Regions from separate parts of the Homo sapiens genome. Here regions 1, 2, 4, 5 and 6 are each linked to region 3. The links are contacts of gene promoters, found by promoter capture Hi-C in blood cells and fetal thymus (Javierre and others, 2016). All regions are on one chromosome and are shown on one strand. Each heading gives the region's core, a stretch centred on a gene start or on the middle of the fragment in contact. The rest is flanking DNA. Distances are from core to core; before and after follow the strand shown.

Region 1 (2,700 bases), core at 102-2,601, 620 kb after region 3:
CTATGTAAATTATTATTATTATTTTATTTTATTTTATTTTTTGAGACGGAGTCTCACTCTGTCACCCAGGCTGGAGTGCAGTGGTGTGATCTCGGCTCACTGCAACCTCTGCTGCCCAGGTTCAAGAGATTCTCCTGCCTTAGCCTCCCAAGTAGCTGGGATTATAGGCGCCTGCCACTGCGCCTGGCTAATTTTCGTAGTTGTAGTAGAGATGGGGTTTCACCATCTTGGCCAGGCTGGTCTTGAACTCCTGACCTTGTGATCCACCCACCTCGGCCTCCCAAAGTGCTGGGATTACAGGCATGAGCCACCATGCCTGGACTTTATGTAAATTATTATTATTACATTTTTATTATTTTTTTTTATTTTTGAGACAGAGCCTTGCTCCATCGCCCAGGCTGGAGTGCAGTGGAGCGATCTCGGCTCACTGCAAGCTCCGTCTCCTGGGTTCACGCCATTCTCCTGCCTCAGCCTCCCGACTAGCTGGGACTACAGGCGCCCGCCACCATGCTTGGCTAATTTTTTGTATTTTTAGTAGAGACGGGGTTTCACTGTGTTAGCCAGGATGGTCTCGATCTCCTGACCTTGTGATCCGCCCGCCTCGGCCTCCCAAAGTGCTGGGATTACAGGCGTGAGCCACCGTGCCTGGCCGTAAATTATTTTTAAAAATATAAATTATTTTTACATGTCTCTTAGTGTGCAGATAAATTTTTTTTCTTTTTTTTTTTCTTATTTTGAGATGGGGTCTCATCTGTTGCACAGGCTGGAGAGTAGTGGTGTGATCACAGCTCACTGCAGCCTCAGCCTCCCCAAGCTCAGGTGATCCTCCCACCTCAGCCTCCCGATTAGTTGGGACTACAGCCCACCTGATTTTTTCTGATTTTTTTGTAGAGATAAGGTTTTGCCATGTTGCCCAGGCTGATCTGAAACTCCTGGGCTCAAGCGATCCACCTATCTTGGCCTCCCAAAGTGCTAGGATTATAGGTGTGAGCCATCACACCTGGCTTAGATATGATTTTGTGTTTTATTTTATTCTCTTAGAATCATAGTGTGAACATTTTCCATGTACATTGAGGCCTTAAAAAAGGATCCAAATGAAAACTGCATCTAGTGGCTCTTCTGATTTACTAACCCAGTCCTCCTATTTTTAAATGTTTGGGTTGTTTTTAATTTTTTGCTGTTATCAGTAATCCTGCAATAATCTCTCCGCATTTATCTTTTTTATTTCTCTAGAATGATTTTCTTACGATGATTTCTTAGGAGGGGATGCTTTTGAATTTTTAAACTTAGATATGTTGTTTTGGGAGGTTTTAGGATAAAATACTGAAGCACAATAGTTGAGTGAAAAATTAAATGAATAGAAACTATTGGATTTTAGATAGCTTTGGTGAGAGCCTTTGGGAGTTCTCCCTTGCTAAAGATGTGTCCTGTAGATTGGTCAGTTGGGATGAAGCAATTGAGGAAAAAGTGAGCTTTTAATGTACCTCCTCTAATTTGTAAGAGGCACACATGAATTTATCTCACCAGATGATTTATAAGCAATTTTCTCATAGGTTCCCAAAGGTGGTGTGACAGAGATCTCAGCTGCTGACAAAGCTGAGGAGTTTCGCAGGTAAGGATCCATTTGGGGGGACCCAGGAGCCTCGTGCTGATTTTCTTGCTAGTTGAATGAGGCTGGAAGGGCCCTGAATCTTAGCACAGTAAAAACCTTTAAGCCACTCTGCTTTCTGTCTTTCTGTTACAGGCAACAGGCAGACTTTGTGGACCTGAGCTTCCCAACAATTTCCAGTACGGGACCCAACGGCGCCATCATTCACTACGCGTAAGGCATGCGGAGGAGCATGCTGCCTGGCCTTGCTGCTTCTGCACAGGAGCCTGAGCAGGGGAGAGACATTATTTTACCAGAGGCCTCTGTGCCCACCTTCATCTGTCTGTTGAGACTGTAAAATGAAGGGAAATAAGACTTCTAAGATTTTATTTTCTCCCAATCCCCAAGCCTCTGCCTTTTGGGAGCCTCTTCTTAGGCTCAGTATGGCACTGGCATTCTCTGCAGGGTAGTCAGATGGGTGTCCCTCTTTCCTTTTTGAAGCTGCAGGAACTGTATGCATAGCCCTTGCATCTTGATGACTAAGTTTTTTTTTTTTTGGAGACAAGGTCTTGCTCTGCTGCCCAGGCTGGAGCGCAGTGGTGCCATCACAACTCACTGCAACTTTGAACTCCTAGACTCAAGCAATCCTCCTGCCTCAGCCTCCTGAGTAGCTGGGACTATAGGCATGTGCTACCACTCCTGGCTAATTTTTAGATTTTTTTGTAGAGATGAGGATCTTGATGTGTTGCCCAGGCTTGTCTCGAATTTCTGGACTCAAGCAATCCTCCTGCCTCAGCCTCCTAAAGTGCTGGAATTACAGGTGTGAGCCACTGTGCTTGGCCCATGACTGGAATTTTTGAGTAGTTTTCTTTCTTGGTAACAGCAGCTGTTTTGTACTAGTCCATACATCTTGTGAGCTCCATCAGTTCCATACCAAAAAAAAACTTAGTAGTAGGTTGTGAGGCAACCTGTTTTGGGTGGAGAGATAATCAGTACCCTCTCTTCCTGTCCCCCTGAGCCTGAAGCCTGGCATCCCAGTATGTGGTTTTTTTACCACGTGGTCTACAAGAACCCATGGACCCACAGGGCCGAGCCTCCCTTCCTTGTGAGAC
Region 2 (2,700 bases), core at 154-2,653, 570 kb after region 3:
TTTTTTTTTTGAAATGGAGTCTCGCTCTGTCGCCCAGGCTGGAGTGCAGTGGCTTGATCTCTGCTCACTGCAATCTCCACTTCCCGGGTTCACGCCATTCTCCCACCTCAGCCTCCCGAGTAGCTGGGACTACAGGCGCCCGCCACCACGCCCGGTTAATTTTTTGTATTTTTAGTAGAGACGGGGTTTCACCGTGTTAGCCAGGATGGTCTCGATCTCCTGACCTCGTGATCCACCCCCCTCGGCCTCCCAAAGTGCTGGGGTTACAAGCTCGAGCCACCGCGCCTGGCCGAAATTTCTTCATTTTTATGAGTTGGCAACTATTTTCTAAAAAATCTTAAAATACCTTGTAGGGTAAGCTAAATACATCTATGGGCTAGAATCAGCCCATGGTACCCGGAATCACCTAATTCTCCACTCTGTTCTATGTATGAATGCAGCCCTTGCTCTTGGAATTATAATTGCCCCAGTGTTTGCTAAGCACAGCTGGCTGAGAGACTATAGGGTGAACTGATCAGAGGAATAGAGGGGAATCAGAAGACCTGGGTTTCAGTCTTATTCTCTAATAAGCAGCTGTGTGGCCTTGCTCACATGACTCTCGGTTTGGTTAGAGCATCTTTATGTATAAAATGAAGGCATTGATGAAGGAATCCTTAGGGCCCCTTCTAGTTCCAAATTTCCACGTCTATGCCTTTAAATGATTGAATTACTTTATTTTGTTTGTATCTAAAATACCTAGGCTAGATACTTAGAGACTTTGGCTTAAGTAGCACTGTGGTAACAATTCTGATTTACAAGAGTGAAGGGACCCTTGAAGTGTGATTTCTCCAACGGAGTCCTTAACAGGAGAGGCTAAAGAAGGGTTCACTCTAAAATTAAATGCCACTCCACTTCCCCAAGGGCAAAAGCAATTAGGAATTTCATTTGAAATCTGGGGACAGTTGATGGAAAAAAGAAAACAAATATATTAATAAAGAGTAATAAGAATAGGCATTGCTGGTGGGAAAGGTGCAGCCACTTTAAAAAAAACCAGTTCATCAGTTATTCAAAATGTTAGGCATAGAGTTACCCTATGACTCAGAAATTCCATCCTAGGTATTTATCCAAGAAAAATGAAATCTACCTACAAAAAAACTTATGCACAAATGTTCTCGCAGCATTATTCATAACAGCCAAGAAGTAGAAACAACCTAAAAGTCCATTTGAATGGATAAGTAAAATGTGGTACATTCATACAGTGGAATATTATTCTGCAAAAAAGGAATGAAATATTGATGAATGCTACATTACAGATGAATCTTGAGAACACTATGATAAGTGAAAGAGGCCAGTCACAGAGCATGATATGTTGTAGGATTTCATTTATCTGAAATGCTTGGAAGAGGCAACTCTATAGAGATAGAAAGCCCATTAGTGGTTGCCTGTGACTGGGGAGGATGGGAGGAAAGAAGAGTGATGCTAAAGGATATGAGATTTCTTTTTGGGGTGATAAAAATGTCCTAAAATTGGCTGGGCACACTGGCTCATGACTGTAATCCCAGCACTTTGGGAGGCCAAGGCAGGAAGATCACCTGAGGTCAGGAGTTTGAGACTAGCCTGGCCAACATGGTGAAAACCTGTCTCTACTAAAAATACAAAAATTAGCCGGGCATGGTGGCAGACGCTTGTAATCCCAGCTACTTGGGAGGCTGAGGCAGGAGAATCGCTTGAACCCGGGAGGCAGAGGTTGCAGTGAGCCGAGATTGCACCACTGCACTCCAGTCTGGGCAATAGAGTGAGACTCTGTCGCAAAACAAACAAACAAACAAAAAAAACAAAACCCTAAAAGTGCCTGTGGAGATGGTTGTAAAACCCTGAATATAATAAAAGACATGAATTGGACACTTTAAAGAGGCAAATTGAATGGTAATGAGAACTAACATCTCAATAAAGCTGTTTAAAAAAGAAAAAGTAAGGGTAAAAAGGTTATTAAATTGAAGGAGTAGATGAATAAAACATTAAACATAGGTTAATGAGAAACTAAGGAAAAGAATATATATGACTAGGTTATATTACTAAGATATCTTTTAGAACTACTCATTGTATTTTGAGAAGGGGCTGCTTTTAGCAGGCAAATTGTGATCAGGGAAAGGGATGATTAACAATAATAAATAGTGATTTTCATTCTTGGATATGGTCCTAGGCACTAATTGTTTTTCTGAGTATTTTTATGCACTGTTTTGCAGCTCAGGCAGCCTGTTACTCTGTTTTTCAGCTCCAATTGTTTGAGTTTGGCAGATTTGAGTTAGTAATGAGGATGCATTATGGCAAGGGACACTCATGACATCAGTACACACAGGGCTGCCAGAATTCTGGGGGCTCTGCCAAGCCCCAATGAGTTGCCCCATGCCTTGCAAAATCCAAATTGCAAAACAAGAAGAGTGAGGACTTGCTAGCTGGTGTTAAGTTTGGGGGATTCTATGTTTAGGTGCGAAAGGTGAAACCATTCTGACAAGAAGTAGTTACCTTAGCTTAATTGCAAGGGCAATTTCAGTGAAGTTGAAATCCAGGCCATGTTTGTCAGATTCTCCAGGAGGAGGAGTCACAAATTTGGACATCAATAGTGGTCTGGCAGGTAAAGTAGAACAGTGTAAGTGGTTAAATGGAGGGCTCTCTGTCCCATTTCATGGGGCCAGTCCCTGCGCTGTTCATGTTCCTTGT
Region 3 (2,700 bases), core at 72-2,571:
CGCAGAATCTCCATACCACCCTGCCCCCGCGCACCTCTATTTCGTGGCTGGCTGGCTGTAGGCTCAGCTCAGGATGGGTCCCAGGGATAATCCTGGGGCGGAGGAAGGAGGAGGTGAAAAGGGTGGAAAGGATGTGAGCTCCAAACTGAGCTAGAGAAAAGACCTAGGAGGGGAGAAGAGGCCGGAGGGAAACAATAAAAAGCAATAAAATGAAATGGAAAGGGAAGGGACTCGCCAGGTCAAAAAGGCAAGGGGGTCGGTGAAGACCACAGCTGGCTAGGCGGGAGGAAGGGGGGCACCACGGCGCCACACCAAGGGAGAGTGGATCGCGACCTGCTGATCCCGCCAGATCAGTCTATCAGGAAGGCCCCGAGCCCTGACCCCAGCGACAGCGGCGAAGCTCGCGTCTGGAAAGGGGGCTCGTGCCCGGCACGAGCCGACGGCCCCCAAACTGCTAAACAGCAGCAGCCCCCGCAGCATAACCAACTCCACCCAGACCACCGGGCAGACCCGCTGCCGGGCGCTTTCGAGGAACGCGGGTGGGGAAGAGGGGGAGCTCTGAGTGCTGACATTTGCAGTGCCCTCCCAAGCGCACAACAAGCCACAGGGTGCAGACTCCTGCAGGTGGTGACTCTCCCGGTCCCAGGGTGTAGGAGGGCGCCCCGGCGCAGGGAGGGGACCCGGGGGCGCCGGAGGGGCGAGCGTGGCAGGGACCCCGAGCGCTCACCTTTGAGGAAGTAGACCCGCGGGCCGGCGGGTAGGCAAGCGAGTAGCGAGGTGAGGACGACACGCGCGGCGCTCTCCTCTCGCAGCTTCTGCCAGTGGCGGCTGCCCTGGTCCAGCACCACCACGGCCGCGACGCCGCCGCCGCCCTCCTGCAGGAGCCGCGCGCGCGCCGCCTCGTCGGGCAGCACGTAGCGCGCCGACACCGCGCCGCCCCGGGCCCGCCGCAGCACCACCGAGTTGAGGTTGACGTTGAGCGAGCCGCGCACGTTCGAGGCAGCGAAGGCCAGATAGGGCCGGCAGTCGAGCACCACGCAGCGCGCCGCCGCCTCCTTGCGGAGCATCTTGCGCAGCTGGCGCCCGTCGAGCGACGTGACCTTCATGCCGCCGCCGCCGCCGGCCAGCGGCCCCGCGCCGCGCGCCCCGCGGGTGCCCACGGCCAGGGTGTCCACGGCCAGGGTGTCCGCGGGCGAGGCACGGGAGGGCGACCCGCGGGGCTGCGGCCGCGACGGAGCCCGGCGCCCGAGCGGCGGCGCAACTCCGCGTTCCCGCCCCGCTCGCTCGATAGCCAGCCCGGCCGCTCGCCGCCCTAGAAGCCGGGGATTCCGCCGGCCGCGCAGCGTTTTATGTGAATGAGTGCCGTCCGTGACGCGGCTGCCCATATAAGGCCAAATATGGGTGTTTCCCCGCCCCTCGGGCCGTGGCCACGCCCTGCAGGGGGCGGGGCAGCGGGGGCGAGGGACGCGCGGGGCGGGTGCCGGCGTTAGAGCGAGAGGAAGTGGAAGGCGCCTCTTCGTTCTCTCTTCCGCGCTTCGCTGAGGGACTCACTCGCGCATCACCCGCGGCTGCCGGTCGAGTGTCCCAGGCGCTCCGGGGCCGCGGTGACCCTCGCGGTGCGGACCGAGGAGGAAGCGCCGTGGGGGGCGGGGCGGCGCCGCACGATCCGGCCTTCAGCTTCACGGACGTGGGCTGAGAACCCGCCCGCGCCGCGCTGAGCAGGGCCGAGGGAGCCGGCCAGGGCCCCAGAGGAGTCCGGAACGGATTCCCGTCGCTACCGAGGTCTGCGCGTGTAAGGAGAGGACGTCGGAGATTTGCCTCGAGGGGTGGGGTATAGATGACTGGAGAGGTCAGGCGCGGGTTGGTCATCGCTGAGGCTGGGTGATGGGTGGCCGGATTCGTTATACTGTTTTCTCCACTTTTCTGTATGTTTGATATTTTTCATAATAAAGTTTGTAAAAGTAAAAACGGGGGTTGGGGGTCGGCGGTGAGAATAGCCATTTAATCTTCCTAAATGGATTCTGCCCTCAAAGGATTGACGCTCTTTTCTCTGTCACTCTCCAATAATGATTAGAATAATAAGTTGTATTTTGAGGAGCTGTTTTCTGGTCCCGGGGAGACCCTTGGTGAACTCAGCAGTACCATCAGCATGTATCCCACGATGGAGCTCAGTTCAGCCAACTGTTGTCCAGGTGGCTTCTGGATTTGGGGGATTATCTATGGATCAAGTTTAATCTCAGGCTGTCTGCCCCCACCGGTCCCCAGGGGCTTCAGGCCTCCCACCCCTATTCCTGGGGAAGCAGACACAATTCACCCATTCAGCAAGCATTTATTGAGGGTCAGCCGTGTGCCAGGGCTTTGCTAGCTGCGGGGACACATGGATGGAAACAGGTTTCTGCCCCCAAGCTCACTGCCAACCATTTTATTGTTAGCCTGGCTGGGACTGCTTGATGGAAAACAGTCTGCCCGCACTAGACAAGGGCTTGTTGACAACTGACATAAGGGAATGAGGTTTTCAGAAGGAAGCAGAGATCAAATTTTGAAATCAGATGCAATCAAATCAGACACCAGGACAGCCAGCATTGCCTCTGGGTCACAGATGCATCCACCCAAAGGCGCTGTCCTCGCCTTGCCAGTGGGGTCTTGGTGAAGACGTGATGCGGGGGCCTTCTTTCTTTTTGTGGTTATCTGTGCCAGCCT
Region 4 (2,700 bases), core at 4-2,503, 550 kb after region 3:
TGTTTAAGTGAACCAAATCAGAGGTTCTCCCTCAGTAGTCAGAGAGTAAGAGAATAATCAGTAAGAGAGAGTGAGAGAATCAGTTGGTAGGAAGAAAAAAGCCAAAAGATACATAGAGAGAAAAAAACAGTAAATACAATTCATGAAGTCGTAGAAGTCCTGAACAAGCTGCTCTATGGGGAGGGAAGAAGGATGGAATCAGGACTTCGTCAGTTGCAACAGGAGCCGCTGAAGTAGAAGGAGAGAGAAAGGAAACAGCGGAGGCATGGTAATGGTAGGATGCCAGGGACCAGTCAGCACCAGACCTGAAAGTCCATGAGATAACCTGCTGATTTGACTACCAGCTTCCAGATCCCAAACCAAGAGCAAAACTCCCTAAGACTCCCAAACTCCCTAGGCTGGGCCGTGGATTTTTTTCTTTCTGTGCGGTCTGGTGGTTTAGCTTGGTTCACACGAGAGGCCTACCAACTTGGCTGAGCTTTCTTATTTCTATTTCTATCATTACAATGAATCTCCATAATTTCTGGTGTGAAGGTAACCTAACCTAGAAGGGAAGCACTCTTAGCTTTGTTTGTGCTGTTCAACACACCATCCAGGCGAAGGGGACCCACCCCACCCCTGTCCATCTCTCACTGCCATGCATATCTCCAGATACTGATACCTGCTGGAACTGACCTGGAACTTCTGACCCTAGGCCTTATAGCACTGCCTGCCCGTATGAAATCTTGGTTCTGGAATCTTCCCATCCTCACTGACCTAGTGCCTAGCACAGTGTCTGACACATGCCTGGAGAACAATGACTATATGCACAAATGCAGTCAAATTCATCTCTTTTGGCTTGAGTGGTTGTGGTGGAGAGGAGATAGAAGCCCTGAATGTGAGTTCTGGCTCTGCAACTTCCTCACTACATAACCATGGGCAAGCTACTCAAATCCTTTAAGCCTCCGTTTCCTCCTCTGTGAAATGAGGATGGCGTTATCTACCTGTTAGAGCTATTGTGAGGTTTAAAATAGCAGACATGTGAAAGCCTATATATAACAGGCCCTCTGAAAAACTTTACTGCATCTAAGTATAAGGAAGCTGCATTTTGTTAGGGTTGCACTTTATGAGACCTCAGATGAGTAGAAAACAAACAAACAAACAAATCTCATGATATAAGAGTCCTCTTGGCAAAGGATGGCAGCCATTTATGTTGGCCAGCTGGCAAGAGAAGAAGCAAAGTTTATAGTTTGCTGGGATTGCAGGTCAAAAATCTTGCAATTTTGGACAAATTTTTATTTTTAGATTATTTGGATTCTTTTCTTTTCTTTTCTTTTCTTTTTTTTTTTGAGATGGAGTCTCGCTCTGTCATCCAGGCTGGAGTGCAGTGGCGCAGTCATGGCTCACCGCAAGCTCTTCCTCCCAGGTTCACGCCATTATCCTGCTTCACCCTCCTGAGTAGCTGGGACTACAGGCGCTCACCACCATGCCTGGCTAATTTTTTTTTTTTTTTTGTATTTTTAATAGAGACGGGGTTTCACCGTGTTAGCCAGGATGGTCTTGATCTCCTGACCTCGTGATCCGCCCGCCTCAGCCTCCCAAAATACTGGGATTACAGGCGTGAGCCACCACGCCCAGCTTGGATTATTTTCAAAATTTCAAAAAGATGAATCTTTATTATTACTTTTGTATTAGTCTCCTTTAAATGTACTTAAATCAAATTTGCTTACAATATCCCTGCCCCCAATTCCATGATTTGAGGGAGAAGAAGATGAAAAATGTACTTTGTGATACAAAATGGATGACTCTTTATGGTCCTGCACAGCTGCATGTTCCAGCATCACATTAACCTCTGGATCTTCTCAGCATTCACTCTGGAATTTTTAAAATGTCATAACAGTGTATTTTCAAAATAATATCCTTGTGCACCCCCTCCTCCCCAATCGTGTAATATTGTCAGGATGTTTTATCTGGTGCCATATATCCTGCACATGACAAATCCATTTCCCCAAACAAACCATCGCATATGTCCACACTGTCCATAAATTTTGAATCCTGACATCAACACTATTACCCTCTGACGTTTGGGTTGGCCTGAGTTGTGCAAAATTGAGGGGGTGATGTTTTTAAGGAATGAGGGGATGTCACTCTTTTCTTTCTGATGGGTCCCCTCTGGAGAAAGTGATGTCGGGAACATGCAAAACTTAACCCTACTGGAGAAAGCCCCAGATACTCTCCCCAGGGTATCCAGAGATTAAACCGGCCAGATCTGTAAGCATCTCCACCTCTGGGGGTGATAACAAGGTCACCCTATACTTAGGTTTGGCTTTATAATAATACATCTGGCATCAATAGAGATTCCTTCTTTTCAGAGTGCTTTCCTATTTATGATCTCATTTTGCCCTTGCAGGAGGAAGAAAGGGAGCTGGTTAGGAAGCAAACTTGAGTTTCCCATGCTCTGTGGCTGAGCAAGTCACTTCACCATTCTCAGGTTCAGTTTCTTCATCTGTGAAGTGGTATTATAAGGGCTGTTGACTGCTTAGGGTTGTCTAAGTGCAAATGTTGCTGTGGGTTGGGCAGGAATGCTTTAGGAAATACAAAAAGCCATAGACAGAACTGCACTGTGATGATAAAAGTCATTTAGACACTCTGGAAGCTATAGAGCTGGAAGGAACTTCAGAAATAATAGTAAAGAGGTTTCAGTCTTTTATCTTGTGAAGA
Region 5 (2,700 bases), core at 88-2,587, 580 kb after region 3:
ATTGCAAAATGAGAAAAGCTTGTAATATATTATTGTCCTTTATAAATTGAGTGTGCATTTAGGAAAGTCTTTTTGGGAAATATTTCTTGGCTGTCCCTTCTCCCCAGAACTGGTTAATTGTCTGATGGGTTGCCAGAAACCTGAATTCTGAAAAGTGGTGTATTACTGTATTTCTATCCCAGTAAGCCAGTACTGCTCTAACGACTACTAAGGAGAACCATGTGTTTTTTTTTTTTTTAGCTGACTGAAAAATTGATCTCTTGAAGTACATAAGAAACCATGCCCGTCTAATCTCTGTTTGGAAGATCAGTGCTATAATTGCATGCAATTTTAGATCCTTTTTCTTTAAAAAATATAGATGTATCCAACACATTTTGGACCATATTAGGAGGTAGCAGAGGAAGGAGGAAAAAGAGAAAGTAAAGAAAGGAAAAAAGTGATGGAATCATTAAACTTAGAGTTGGAAGATAACTTCTTTTTCTTTTTGTAATGTATGAGGAAATAGAGGTTAGGTAGCTTCAGTTGCCTGAGGTTGTAGATCCCAGCTGGAAACTGGAGCTCACTTGTTTTGCTTCTGTTGGTCTTAGAACACTTTAAGGCTCTATTATGTCCCCCAGCTAATATGGTGTAATAGAGCATGGACTTGGGAATTGCATAGACCTTGAGTCCCGGTTCCTGATGAACCAGCTGACTTTGGGCAAGTACTTAACTCCTTTTAACTCCTGTTCCTTTATGTGTAAAATGAGAATAGTGAAACCTCCCTTGGAGGATTGTTGTGAGAATTAGCCACTAATGTATGTAAAGCCCTTAGCGTTCCCTCAGCTGTGCAACAGAGAAACAAACCACTACCTCTAAAGCTATTGATGCTGGAAGAGCATCTGTGCCCGTGTTAAGATGCTGAAATTGGAGTAAACTGGCCCCTTCCATTCTTATAACGAGACTTGGGAATTCCAGCTGGTGCTTCAGATCCAGATTCAAATATTTCTTGAGCTCCTGCAGTGTAATAGATGCTGTGCATGGTGCTTTCACACACATTATCATGTTTAATTTGCCTGGCCACCAGTGAGGTAAGTATGGTGTGCTTTTCATGTACAATCAGTGAAAAATCTTGTTTGTGATAAAGGCTGAAGGTGTGGGAACTTATTTCTAAAAGCAGACCTGTATATGCAAGACTTTTAAGTGAGTCATTCTCTGTAAGGCATAGTTTGAAAATACCTGGCAGTGTATGGGCTAATGTTTCATCGTGGACTAGGCCTGTTGCTCTTGGCTTCCTACTTTGCTGCATACTTTGCTTAGCTCTTGGCTGTTTCTAACATTTCTGAAAAGTCATAGGATGTGGAATGAGCAGATGTCATAATACAGCACCTTGCAAGAGCCTATCTGTCACTGAAGATTCATTACTGTTCATTGAGACTGAAAAGATCATAGATCCAATGTTGTGAATTTGATTTAGCCATCTTTGAGTGAGCATATGTATATGTTAATTGTAGATACATGGATACAGAGATGACATCATCCCTGCCTTCCGGAGAAGTGGTATACACACCTGTTTACACAATTTATCACATTGCATTTATGGTTAGTTGTGTGTCTAACTCTAATAACATTAAACATTTACATGACATTTGTTATGTGCCAGGTACTGTTTCTAAGTGCCATATGTATAGTAACTCATTTACTCCTTATACAAATTATGAGGGTCATTAGCTACAACTTTCACTTCCTCCATCTTGGCTGCCTTTTCAACCAGTGCCACCTCAATGGCTAGGACTTATATAATTGCACCAACTTTGTTCTCTCCTTAGCTCCAGCTGCTCACTCATTCAATCACTTTCCATCACCTGTTTTCCTTGTGGGTACAGCTGCCTCAACCACCAGGGCCCACTGTATTCACTTCAGTGGTAGCTGCCTCACTGCCTCAGCCATTGCCTGTTGCTATCTTCTTCACCTTCACTGTTGCTGCCACTGCCCCTTACCACATCCTAACTATTGGTTATGGTATTGGGACTTCTTTCATCATGTCTAATATTGATGATAAAGAAGTAGCTGCATTGCACCCAGAACATGAATGTGATCGGCCTGAAGGATGAGGAAGTAGGAAGAGGGAAAGTGTTGAGTGTTGATGGGGGTAGGTAGCATTGTGGAGGGGAGTGTCAGTGAGACTGATAAAGCTGATGATTCTGTGGGGGTCTGATATGCCAGTCACCAGGGGAAACGTGATGATGTGATGGTGGTAGTGATGAAGATCAGAATGTGGGAATGAGGAGGCAGGTTGTGATGACCAGGAAGCAGAGGATGTTTTTGAACAGATCCAGTTTGTTTTTGTTGGTTTTTAGTTTGCAGTTGAAGATTTTGTGCTCATGATTGGTTGTGTTAACGTTATTGATGAAGTTAGTGACTGATAATATTGATACTACAATCAGCACTAAACACCCAGTCAGTGCCACCAAAATCCTTACGTCAGAATGTACCTGAATGGAAGGCAGAGTCTATAAAGAAATAAATGATCTTGAAAGAAAGTATATTAGACTCTTATATTTTTGCATTTTAAAACTCCTGAAGCCAAGGCTGTACTCCAGACCAGTTAAGTCAGATGTTTCCCGGATAGTCCTAATGTGCAGCCAGTGTTGAAGTCCTGCTCCTAAAGAAAGCTTCATTTTTGCTTGACTGTTTTTAAGAATGATAACTTGCTCAGAAATA
Region 6 (2,700 bases), core at 103-2,602, 600 kb after region 3:
TAAGTGCCAACATGGATGGTCCTGTAAAATTCAGAAATGTGGGAGCCTCTGAAAGCTGAAGTGGGTCAGGAAGCTTCATGGAAAAGGGAGCACTTGAACCAGATTTTTGAGAGATGACTAGCTTTTTTTTTTTTTGTAGTTTACAGATGCTTTATTTGGCTATGTATTGTTTATATTGTTGGAATTAGATGCCAACATTTAAAAATTGGGTAATTTCTCATGAACCCATATTTCTGGCTTCTTCTGAAATATTGAAGGTTAGCAACATGTGGCCTGCATTTCAGAAATCAGAGCTGAGTAGGAGCTGCTGTCTTTAGAAAAGATATCCTTTGTCCTGTACCCTGAGGTATTTGAATTTGAAACCCCATTTATAATCCCTTACGATCTTTTCCCCATTAGATAATGTATTAGTTTCCTATCACTGCTATAACAAATTACCACAGTGACTTAAAACAAATTTATTCTCTTATGGTTCTGGAAGTCTGAAGTCTAAAATGGGTCAGCAGGGCTATGTTACTTCTGCAGGCTCCAGGGAGAGTCCATTTCCTTGCCTTTTCCAGTTTCTGGAGGCCACCTGCATTCCTTGGCTCATGGTCCCTTCGTCCATCTTCGTAGATATGGTTGAGGTTTTAACTGGATGTAGGGAAAAGCTTCATGTCTCTTTCTGCTTGTTCATTTATAATACAAATGTGGGTTGAGGATCTAGTCACCTGTGCTGAGTGCAGGGACAGGACAGATACCCTGATCTCATGGAACTTATATGCTTGGGGTTAAGATGGGGGTTGAGGAACAAGACAATAAACATATAAAAAGTTCATTAAGAAGAGAAACATTGCCCAGCATGGTGGCTCTTGCCTGTAATCCTAGCACTTTGGGAGGCTGAGGCAGGCTGATCACTTGAGCCCAGAAGTTCAAGGCCAGCCTGGCAACGTGGTAAAACCCCGTTTCTACAAAAAAAAAAAAAAAAAAGGTGTGTGCCTGCTGTAGTCCCAGCTATTGAGAAGATTGAGGTGGGAGGATTGCTTGAACCTGACAGGTCAAGGATACAATGAGCCATAATTGTGTCACCACACTCTAGCTAGGGTAACAGAAGGCGATCCTGTCTCCAAAAGAAAAAAAAAAAAAAAAAGACAAATATCTAGAGTATGTGTGTGCTATACAGAGACTTAAAAGTGGCCAGGTGGCTATTATAGCTGGGTAGTACAGGTAGGCCTCTCTGTAGAGGTGATATTTGATCTCAAATGTAATGATGAGAAGGACCTAGCCATACCATGATCAGAAATACTTTTATAGGCACAAGGAAGCACATGTGCCAAGGCCTTGAGGCAGGAATGAGCTCAGGATATGCAAAGAGCAGAAAGGAGGTGGGTGTGTCTGGAGCATGGTGAATGGGAGCAGAGCTGCAAGAGGACTGGCAAAGTCAGATCAGCTGGTACCTTGACTGGGCCAGAGTTTGGATTTTATCTTAAATATAATAGGAAGCCATTGGAGGGTTTTAAGGAGGTTGCTAACATGATCTTAGATATTTGGAAAAGCTCACTCTGAGTGTATGTGCAGAGTGGATTGTAGGGGCGGTAGTCCAGGTAGAGATGATGGAGGCTTGGACTGAGTGCTGCTATTAGAAATGGAGAGAAGTGGGTGGTTTTGAGAAAAAGCCAGCAGCTGTGCTTCTTTGTGCCTTTTTCCTAGCATGCTACAGCTTTGGTTTATTTTAGGCCCTATGCTGTGTTCTAAGGAGACCGCCCCTGGGCGTTGCCAGCTTCATGCCTGGGAGAAGGAGAGTGACAGCCCTGGGCCCAGTGCTTGTCTGGCTTCTGCATAGCCTGTCAGTGTGGAGGTGAGGCTGTGGCCAGCCTTGCTTAGCAATGTCTTTCTGGAATGTTGACCACTTAGGTCATGTCTGGACATTCTTACCCCAGACCTTGTCTCCATCCCAAACTAAACATGTCCATTTGCTGTTAATTCCACCTCCCTTTGGAGGAACTCTTTCCTTGCCTTTGCTGATGGAGAAGTCTAGGTAAACCCTGCGGATCTTCCATCTCTCCCAAGCTTGCCCAGAAAGGGGTGGGGCATCCCTAGAGTACTATGTCCCTGAATGGAAGAGTCCAGCCGGGCTCAGACCTGCACTGCATTCTCTGCCAGTCTTTGCCAGTATCTTCACCCTGTGTCACGGGTGGAAGAGCCCCAAGCCTGTGGCGTCATGTTGGTGGAGAGTGCCCTCACTGTGTATTCCCCATTGTGCGCAGTGATTTTTAGCACAAGAGTTATTTTTAACTTAGTTTTCCCAGCCCCTTAGATGTCTTCTCACTGTTTAGGAAGAAGAGATTAATAATATCTCTTCCATTGCATATGTGCAGCACTTTCAAGTTTCTGGTGAGTTTTGAAAGACATTAACTTACTGTTTCTCACAAGAGTCCTAGGAGATGTGTGGGCCACCCTTCCCCCCGTTGTTACTTTTTAATAAAAAGTCTTGCACACAGTAATTACTCGGTTAATAAACAAGTGAGGATTCTGCAGTTCCTAAACGATGCTGGTGGCCATTTCTTTCTATTTCCTTAGTGCTGTTGACCGAATGTTCTTTATGCTTTAGGAATAAAACGTGCTTGCTGTTGCATTTAGCAATCTGAAATGACCTGTCTTAGAGATGAGGAAATGAGGCTGAGAGAGCTGCCAGGACTTGTTGCAGACTATGCAGCTGGG

Evidence for each region. Contacts are between HindIII fragments. The CHiCAGO score rates a contact against its expected background, and 5 or more counts as called.
Region 1: a contact is called between a fragment that was not itself captured here and the fragment with the promoter of DUSP5 in region 3, in 4 of 17 cell types (naive CD8 T cells, total CD4 T cells, non-activated CD4 T cells and 1 more). The highest score is 9.3, in naive CD8 T cells.
Region 2: a fragment that was not itself captured here is called in contact with the fragment with the promoter of DUSP5 in region 3 in 8 of 17 cell types (neutrophils, monocytes, activated CD4 T cells and 5 more); the score reaches 13.5 in neutrophils.
Region 4: a contact is called between a fragment that was not itself captured here and the fragment with the promoter of DUSP5 in region 3, in 2 of 17 cell types (neutrophils and monocytes). The highest score is 5.4, in neutrophils.
Region 5: a fragment that was not itself captured here is called in contact with the fragment with the promoter of DUSP5 in region 3 in 14 of 17 cell types (monocytes, neutrophils, naive B cells and 11 more); the score reaches 13.8 in monocytes.
Region 6: a contact is called between a fragment that was not itself captured here and the fragment with the promoter of DUSP5 in region 3, in 3 of 17 cell types (activated CD4 T cells, naive CD8 T cells and M2 macrophages). The highest score is 8.4, in activated CD4 T cells.

Annotation. Positions count from the first base shown.
Region 1 is chr10:109,876,912-109,879,611 of GRCh38, reverse strand. It overlaps XPNPEP1 (X-prolyl aminopeptidase 1), which reads left to right. Exons shown (of 21, transcript NM_020383.4): 13 at 1,554-1,612; 14 at 1,745-1,822. Among named protein-coding and RNA genes, the nearest start is that of XPNPEP1, 45 kb to the left of the region's middle. The HindIII fragment of the contact is 6,015 bases long and covers 1-2,700 here.
Region 2 is chr10:109,930,994-109,933,693 of GRCh38, reverse strand. No RefSeq gene overlaps it. Among named protein-coding and RNA genes, the nearest start is that of XPNPEP1, 8.8 kb to the right of the region's middle. The HindIII fragment of the contact is 4,489 bases long and covers 1-2,700 here.
Region 3 is chr10:110,496,528-110,499,227 of GRCh38, reverse strand. DUSP5 (dual specificity phosphatase 5) reads right to left here and starts at 1,321. Exons shown (of 4, transcript NM_004419.4): 1 at 728-1,321. The coding sequence starts at 1,106. RefSeq lists silencers at 595-864, 985-1,044, 1,115-1,254, 1,265-1,794 and an enhancer at 2,276-2,700. The HindIII fragment of the contact is 7,811 bases long and covers 1-2,700 here.
Region 4 is chr10:109,946,966-109,949,665 of GRCh38, reverse strand. It overlaps ADD3-AS1 (ADD3 antisense RNA 1), which reads left to right. Exons shown (of 5, transcript NR_038943.1): 4 at 2,390-2,470. Among named protein-coding and RNA genes, the nearest start is that of XPNPEP1, 25 kb to the right of the region's middle. The HindIII fragment of the contact is 3,875 bases long and covers 1-2,700 here.
Region 5 is chr10:109,911,624-109,914,323 of GRCh38, reverse strand. The region is part of intron 2 of XPNPEP1 (X-prolyl aminopeptidase 1); the gene reads left to right. Among named protein-coding and RNA genes, the nearest start is that of XPNPEP1, 11 kb to the left of the region's middle. RefSeq lists enhancers at 433-1,088, 1,435-1,484. The HindIII fragment of the contact is 2,633 bases long and covers 21-2,653 here.
Region 6 is chr10:109,894,703-109,897,402 of GRCh38, reverse strand. The region is part of intron 3 of XPNPEP1 (X-prolyl aminopeptidase 1); the gene reads left to right. Among named protein-coding and RNA genes, the nearest start is that of XPNPEP1, 27 kb to the left of the region's middle. The HindIII fragment of the contact is 1,399 bases long and covers 653-2,051 here.